Linked DNA regions of Homo sapiens: region 2 is linked to region 1. Evidence: promoter capture Hi-C in 16 types of primary human blood cells and fetal thymus (Javierre and others, 2016). All regions are on one chromosome and are shown on one strand. The core of a region is centred on a gene start or on the middle of the fragment in contact, and the rest is flanking DNA. Distances in the headings are between cores, read along the strand shown.

Region 1 (3,352 bases), core at 301-2,800:
GTGTTTCTTAGAATACATTTACTCTCATCTCCTTTTGGACGTAAAAATAGGACGTTCATGGAGACAAATGACAGAGTCTTTTTAAGATAGCTATTGTCTTTCTCTTCCCAGTACTGTTTTATGTGTGGCATGCTGTCTTTACACCAAACAAAAAAACCGAGCTGCCAGCCTGTGGAGGTCATTGCTGGGGAGTGGGATCCTGTTCTGTAGCTCTGATATGGTGCCTTTTCATAATGCAGCGTGCTCACATCTCCACGATGGAGTAAACACCGTCTCACCGCCAAGAGCTTGAATATTTGAAAACCAGGCCAGGGGTTGGCTCTGGAATACAGATGTTTGATGTGAGAATTAGGGACAATTTTTGCTTAGAGGCAGCATGTATTAGGTCTTTTTTCTTTGAGTGTAATGTGACAACAGGAAAGCTTTTTTGGCGCAGCTGTGGGCAGGTCACCACAGCTGTGGAAGGAATATAGACCCTTCCAGGTTGGGGCTAAGAAGAAAAACGGCAACTTTTCTTTTTTTGAGACGGAGTCTCATTCTGTCACCCAGACTGGAGTGCAGTGGTGCAATCTCGGCTCACTGCAACCTCCACTTCCTGGGTTCAAGCGATTCTCTTGCCTCAGCTTCCTGAGTAGCTGGGATTACAGGCATGTACCATGATGCCTGGCTAATGTTTTTGGTATTTTTAGTAGAGTTGGGGTTTTATCATGTTGGCCAGGCTGGTCTCGAACTCCTGACCTCAAGTGATCCACCCTCCTCGGCCTCCCAGACTGCTGGGATTACAGGCATGAGCCACCATGCCCGGCCCAAAAACAGCAACGTTTAAAAGTAGAATCTTGGCCGGATGTGGTGGCTCACACTTGTAATCCCAGCACTTTGGGAGGCTGAGGTGGGCAGATCATCTGAGGTCAGGAGTTTGAGGCCAGCCTAACATGGAAAAACCTTCTCTACTAAATACACAAAATTAGCTGGGTGTGGTGGCGCATGCCTGTAATCCCAGCTACTCGAGAGGCTGAGGCAGGAGAATCGCTTGAACGCAGGAGGCGGAGGTTGTGGTGAGCCAAGATCGAGCCATTGCACCACTCTAGCCTGGGCAACAAGAGCGAAACTCTGTATCAAAAAAAAAAAAAGAAAGAAAAAAGAATCTTAACAGTAATGGTCAGAGCATTCAGAAAAAAAAATTCAGCTGTGTCACGGAGTCAGTTGGCTTGGCAGCTGTTACAATATGATACAAAATTTTGCAGAGGCATTTTGTCTTTGGAAAAATCATATAGGGGACTAGGTGTACAGTATTTTCACCACTGCAGTTAGAAATGTTTACAGTTGTACCTGATAGCTCCAGTTGAATAAAGCTGTTACGCTGGATGATATTGATAACAGTGCTTAAACTTCTTTTTCAATTCTTGAAGGTGGCCATTCCCATCGAGGACGTTAACCGCAGTCACCTTCGGTTTACCTTCCGCCACAGGTCATCACAGGACTGTGAGTAGTCAAGCACTTTCTTCCCCCAAGTATTTTTAAGGGAGAACTGGGGGAAAGCGCGAGAGGCCACTCTCAGTTGTTCTGGAACTCGCTATCATAACACAATAAGGCTCATTTCCCACCGGAACCTATTCCTTGGAAACATTCTTCTCTCTTTTCCTTGAGCAGATCTCAGGAGGAGATCTTAATTTCCTTCTCCAGTTCCTCCTACCCAGTGTTGCTGGTCCCCTTCTTTCTTTTGCTTTCCAGTCTTCCGTGTTGACTTGCCATCCATCCATGCCATCCATCAGAAAAGTTACTGAGCTGTAACAAATACCTCTCAAACATGGGCTCTTAAGGTGCCTGTCTTAGAATTGGAAATCTTGAACCCTTTTTGTCTTCCTTGGTGGCCCTTGCTGTCTGGAGCTCAGGGATGGCTTTTCTCATAGACATTTTTGTGAATACTGACCATGGTGCCAAGACTTTAGGAGGAAAGAACTGCTATTTGAATCACTCTCCTTCAAAAAGAATTTATTATTGATGACTGAAATTTGTTCCATCACATTTTGTTAAATTAATTGTCAACTAAAGCTGTAGCCCTGTGCTAGACAGTAAGATATCACAGAAGGAAAACATGATTCCCGTCTTTCAGGGTGTGTGTCTCTTTGGCATTGGGAACTGAGACATATTCATATTTGGGACAATAAATGACAAAGAGAGTTGGCTACAGGCTTGTGTGCCGCAGGCAGTTAAAGGAAAAGAGTGGTGTGGAGGGCAGACCGCCCTTTGTCACTGATGACCCCGTGGGGGTCACACCGTGCAGTGGGCAGTTTCAGGTTCTGTGTGCTCTGGATGGAGCTTAAGCATGAGCCTCTTCTGTATCTTCATTTGAGGATAAGAATACCTTTCTGGCTGGTGCCGTGGCTCACACCTGTAATCCCAGAACTTTGGGAAGCCAAGGTGGAAGATTGCTTGAGCCCCGGAGTTTGAGACCAGCTTGGGCAACACAGTGAGACCCGATCTTTACTAAAACAGTTATCCTGGTGTGATGGTATACCTGTAGTCTCAGCTGCTCAGGAGGCTGAGGCAGGAGGATTGCTTGAACCCGGGAGGCAGAGGTTGCAGTGAGCTGTGATTGCACCACTGCACTTCAGCCTGGGGAACAGAGTGAGACCCTGTCTCAAAAACAAAAAGCAAAACAAAAAAAACATTAAACCTTCCTCCTAGGGTATTCTTGAAGGTCAGGCAAGGTGGAGGCTGGCCACCTTCTGGCACGCTGCCTGGTATGGATAGGGGCTCCATTGTAGTTGCTGCTGCTGGAATAATGTGTTCATTCACCTGACTATTTCTGGGGCCTGGCCTGCCCTGGGCCCTCCATGTGGGGTGGGTGTGCCTGGACAGGGGGGCTGCAGGAGAGCAGCCTGGAGAGCAAATGCACGAGCACGGTCATGATGTTATGGTGTGCAGATCATCGAGAAGCTTGGGCCTGCTGTTGTTCAGGGGAGTTGGAGAGGCCTGGTGTGTGGTCTGCAGAGCTGGGGTGCCGGCCCATGACTGTCAATGGCAGATGTGTGTGTGGTGGGGCCCGGCCTGGGATGTGGCTGACTGGAGGGGTTTCAAGCAGCATGGAGTGCCTGGTGGTGGGTGGTGCATGGCGGGGGAGTGCGGGGGGTGGGTGGTGGCTGGCAGCTGCCGAAAGCATCATTGCATTCCTGTCCTGTCCCAACAGTGCATGCAGGCCAGGGGTTCAGTTACAAGGGCATCAGGTTTATGTCTAACGGGAGAAGCAGGGGCAGGAAGGCCGCCAGCTTGGAAGGCAGTTCCCTGCCATCTCATCCTTGCCCCAGGATCAGATCCAGGCTACCAGACCCCAGACCAAGTCGGATCTGCT
Region 2 (3,352 bases), core at 243-2,742, 120 kb before region 1:
GGGGCTGCCTGTGAAATTTACCAGCCCGCGTTTCCCCCTTGGTTTTGAGTTGGTGGGTCATGTTTACGGGCCTGGCATATTAACAGGCATAAACCTTGACTCAGCTGTCACACTGGCCAGATGATCTTTTCTCTCACAGCCCAGTAGGCAGTTTTATGTCCCGACGTCAATAAAATTATGTTGCCATGGATCCTGTTCCTAAGATTAGGTGAAAAGATGCAGTATGTTCTAGAATCACACGTGAGGACCATGTGCTCACTCACTCACATCTCAACAATGGTGTTGAAGGCAGAATAATGGTCCCCAAAAAGGTCCACGCCCTAATCCCCAGACTCTGTGAATTCAATATGTTACATGGCAAAAGGGACTTGGCAGATGTGATTCAGGTTACTTGGAATTCGTAGATGGGAGATTATTCAGGACCATCCACGTGGGCACAGAGAACTTTGGCTGTCAAAGTTGTGAAACAGGCAGTCAGAAGATCCTATGTTTGGAAGCACAGTTGCTGGCCCTGAGATGTAGGGGCTCACTTGCAAGGACCAGAGAGAGGCCTCAGGGAGCTACGGGAGGCCCCTAGCTAATGATCGGCAGTTACAAAGAATTGGATCCTGCCAACACCCTGAATGAGCTTGGAAACAGATTTCCTCCCCAGGGCCTCCTGCTAAGAGCCCAGCCAGCCAACACCTTGATTTTGAGACCCTGAGCTGCTGGGCGTGTGGCCTGTGGAACTGAGATAATACATTTGTGTGGTTTTAAGCTGGCTGGGTTGTGGGAATTTGTTACGGCAGCAGTGGAAAACTAATACAGATGATGGGAGAGAAGCTTGCAGGGTGAGGCTCTCTTGCACCCTTGAGATCTGTTACTAAGTTCATTGAAGGTAGTGAACCCAAGTGTGCTCTTCACTTTGGCCACTTCCAAGTGCAGCTCTCAAATGGGATGGGGCATTGGCACTGCTCTTACTCATAATGGGACCCTTGAGCAAATTACTCATACTTTCTTAGCCTTGGTTTTCTCATCTGTGAAGTGGAACCAAGCCTGCTTGCTGCCGAGTCGTGAGGACTCGCTGAGATGATGTTGGCAGAGAATTTAGCCCTGCGTTTAAGATATGCCAAGTACTCAACGAAGCGTTGCTTTTGTTAACTTTTTATTTAATAAAGCATAAAGTTTAGAAACATAGTGACAAGTGACTTCTGTGTGCGGTTAACGGGTTGCTGGAAAAATGCCTTTCTTCAAAAGTTGGTTTCTTGATAGTGTGTTTTGCTTCCTAATTGGGGTAGAAGTCACATTTGCTCAGTGTGAGGAGCCTGACTTGCGTGCCTTCACATTAGCTCTAAGCAATGATAATTGCTAGGAATAGTGTGATATCCAAATAAATTTGGGAGCGTGGGAGTTGATGAGAGATCTCTTTTGTTATCTAGAGTAGCAAGCAAGCTGCTACTTTGGGGAAGAAAAATTAGATTTGATCATAAGTAAATAGAAATGCAGGCATTTTCATTCACTGGAATTGCAGCAAAACCAAATCAGGGCATATTATATTTCTACAAACCTGATTTTACTTTGGAAACATAAGAAATTTAAATTTATTTCTATGCCATTGTTTGCCTAGGATACCAGACATCTGATCAGGATTGTCTTAGTGTGTGTCAATAGTTCTGTCTCTTTATCACCTCTGTGGATGCAGGTAGTGAAATGGGGAGGAAGAAATAGGCCACGTGGTGTCCTTTGCTGGGTGTGGCGCTGACGCCCCAGGGCCATCGCTGTAGCAAGCGCACACTTGTACGCTGTTCCCACCCTCCTTCCCTCCCTCCCTTTTCCCTTCTTTCTTTTCTTCCTCTCTGTACTTTGTATTTTCAGATGATTGCATTAAACTTTGTATTTTCAGATAATTATAGCCAAATGCGGGTGTAAAATATAATTCAGGGAGATCATGAGTAGCCATTACTAGTTTCACCTAAGGTTACGTCTTGTAAAGCTGTAGTACAGCATCACGACTGGGATATTGACATCGATAGTCAAGGTACAGAACATTTCCAGCACCACAAGCACCACGCCTACCTCCCTCCACGCCTTTCTCCCCTCAAATCCTGGCCACCCTTTGCCTGTTCTGTGTTTTTATAATATTGTCCTTTAAAGAGTGTTCCGTTAGTGAAATTGCATAGGAGGTAAGCTTTCGGGATTGGCTTTTTTCACTCAGTATCTCTCTCTGGATATTCATCCGGGTGTTGCTTCTTTTCTTTGCTGAGTATCATTTCATGGTCTGGATATGCCCCAGATTAACTGTTCACCTGTCGAAGGACATCTGAGTTTGGCTGTGACAAATACAGCTGCTGTCAACAAGCACATACAGGTTTTAGTGTGAACCTAAGTCTTCATTTTCTGGGATAAATGCCCAGGAGTGCAGAGGCTGAGTCGTCTGGTAGTTGGATGTTTAGCTTTTTAAGAAACTGCCAAACTTTCCTGGAGTAACTGTGCCAGTTCACATTCTCACCAGCAGTGTATATGTGATTGTAGATTTCTCGGAATCCTTGCCATCATTTGTCACCGTCCTTATTGCTTGTGTAGGTGTGTAGTTGTCTGTCATTGTGGTTGGAGTTTGCATTTGCCTTGGTTTCATTTGGGAGCCAGCGTGCAGCTCCCTGTGCTGCTGCGGTACAGGAGAAGGCAGCCCACCCAGGGGGTGCTGGTGGGAGCGCTGTATGAGCGGGTCCACTGAGCTGTGAAATTGTCCAGTGTATTCAGGGAAGGACTTTGATCCAGTTTGAAGAGACATCATGGAGTGGAAGGCTGACCGGGCACATGCACCAGTGTGGAGACCACGGTTAACACCAGGTGGTCGCTTGTCAAGATGCGGTTGTCAAGATGTTCACTTTTCAAACCCTTCAGTGCATCCGGAAGGCCTTCAGGGAGGAAATGAGGAGGCGCCCGAGGAGGGGTCAGAGTTTGAGTTTTAGCCCTGACAAGGCCACTGTTCATGCATATGACCCAGGGTGAGTGTTTGAACCTCTTCCAGCCTGGTTTCTGCGTTTTTAAGCAGCGATGTTCTGGATGGTACTGTGGGCTTTGCTTCACTGAGGTTGGGCTGATGGGAGTTGACAGGAACTAATTAATGTATCTTAAGGCAGTTTGGAAACATTGTTATGCAAATGGATTGCATTTGCCATCAGCCACTGTTCCTCAATTTGCTTTTATTGATATGATGGGAAGTGCTTTGGAGCTGACGTTGAAATCACAGTGTGGAATTTGTGTGTTAGTTGACTGGAGCTACCATAACAAAGGACCACAAGACAGGGTGGCTTAACCAACAGGACTGTGTTTCTTCACAATTCTGTAATGCCGGAGTCAAGGTGTTTTG

Evidence for each region. Contacts are between HindIII fragments. The CHiCAGO score rates a contact against its expected background, and 5 or more counts as called.
Region 2: a contact is called between a fragment that was not itself captured here and the fragment with the promoter of DOCK1-AS1 in region 1, in 1 of 17 cell types (endothelial precursors). The highest score is 5.1, in endothelial precursors.

Annotation. Positions count from the first base shown.
Region 1 is chr10:127,024,943-127,028,294 of GRCh38, forward strand. DOCK1-AS1 (DOCK1 antisense RNA 1) reads right to left here and starts at 1,551. Exons shown (of 5, transcript NR_188215.1): 1 at 1,330-1,551. It overlaps DOCK1 (dedicator of cytokinesis 1), which reads left to right. Exons shown (of 52, transcript NM_001290223.2): 16 at 1,410-1,482. The HindIII fragment of the contact is 2,518 bases long and covers 421-2,938 here.
Region 2 is chr10:126,908,672-126,912,023 of GRCh38, forward strand. The region is part of intron 1 of DOCK1 (dedicator of cytokinesis 1); the gene reads left to right. LOC124900289 (a long non-coding RNA gene) reads left to right here. Exons shown (of 2, transcript XR_007062336.1): 1 at 1-3,352. Among named protein-coding and RNA genes, the nearest start is that of DOCK1, 4.9 kb to the left of the region's middle. RefSeq lists enhancers at 2,218-2,718, 2,719-3,219. The HindIII fragment of the contact is 1,345 bases long and covers 821-2,165 here.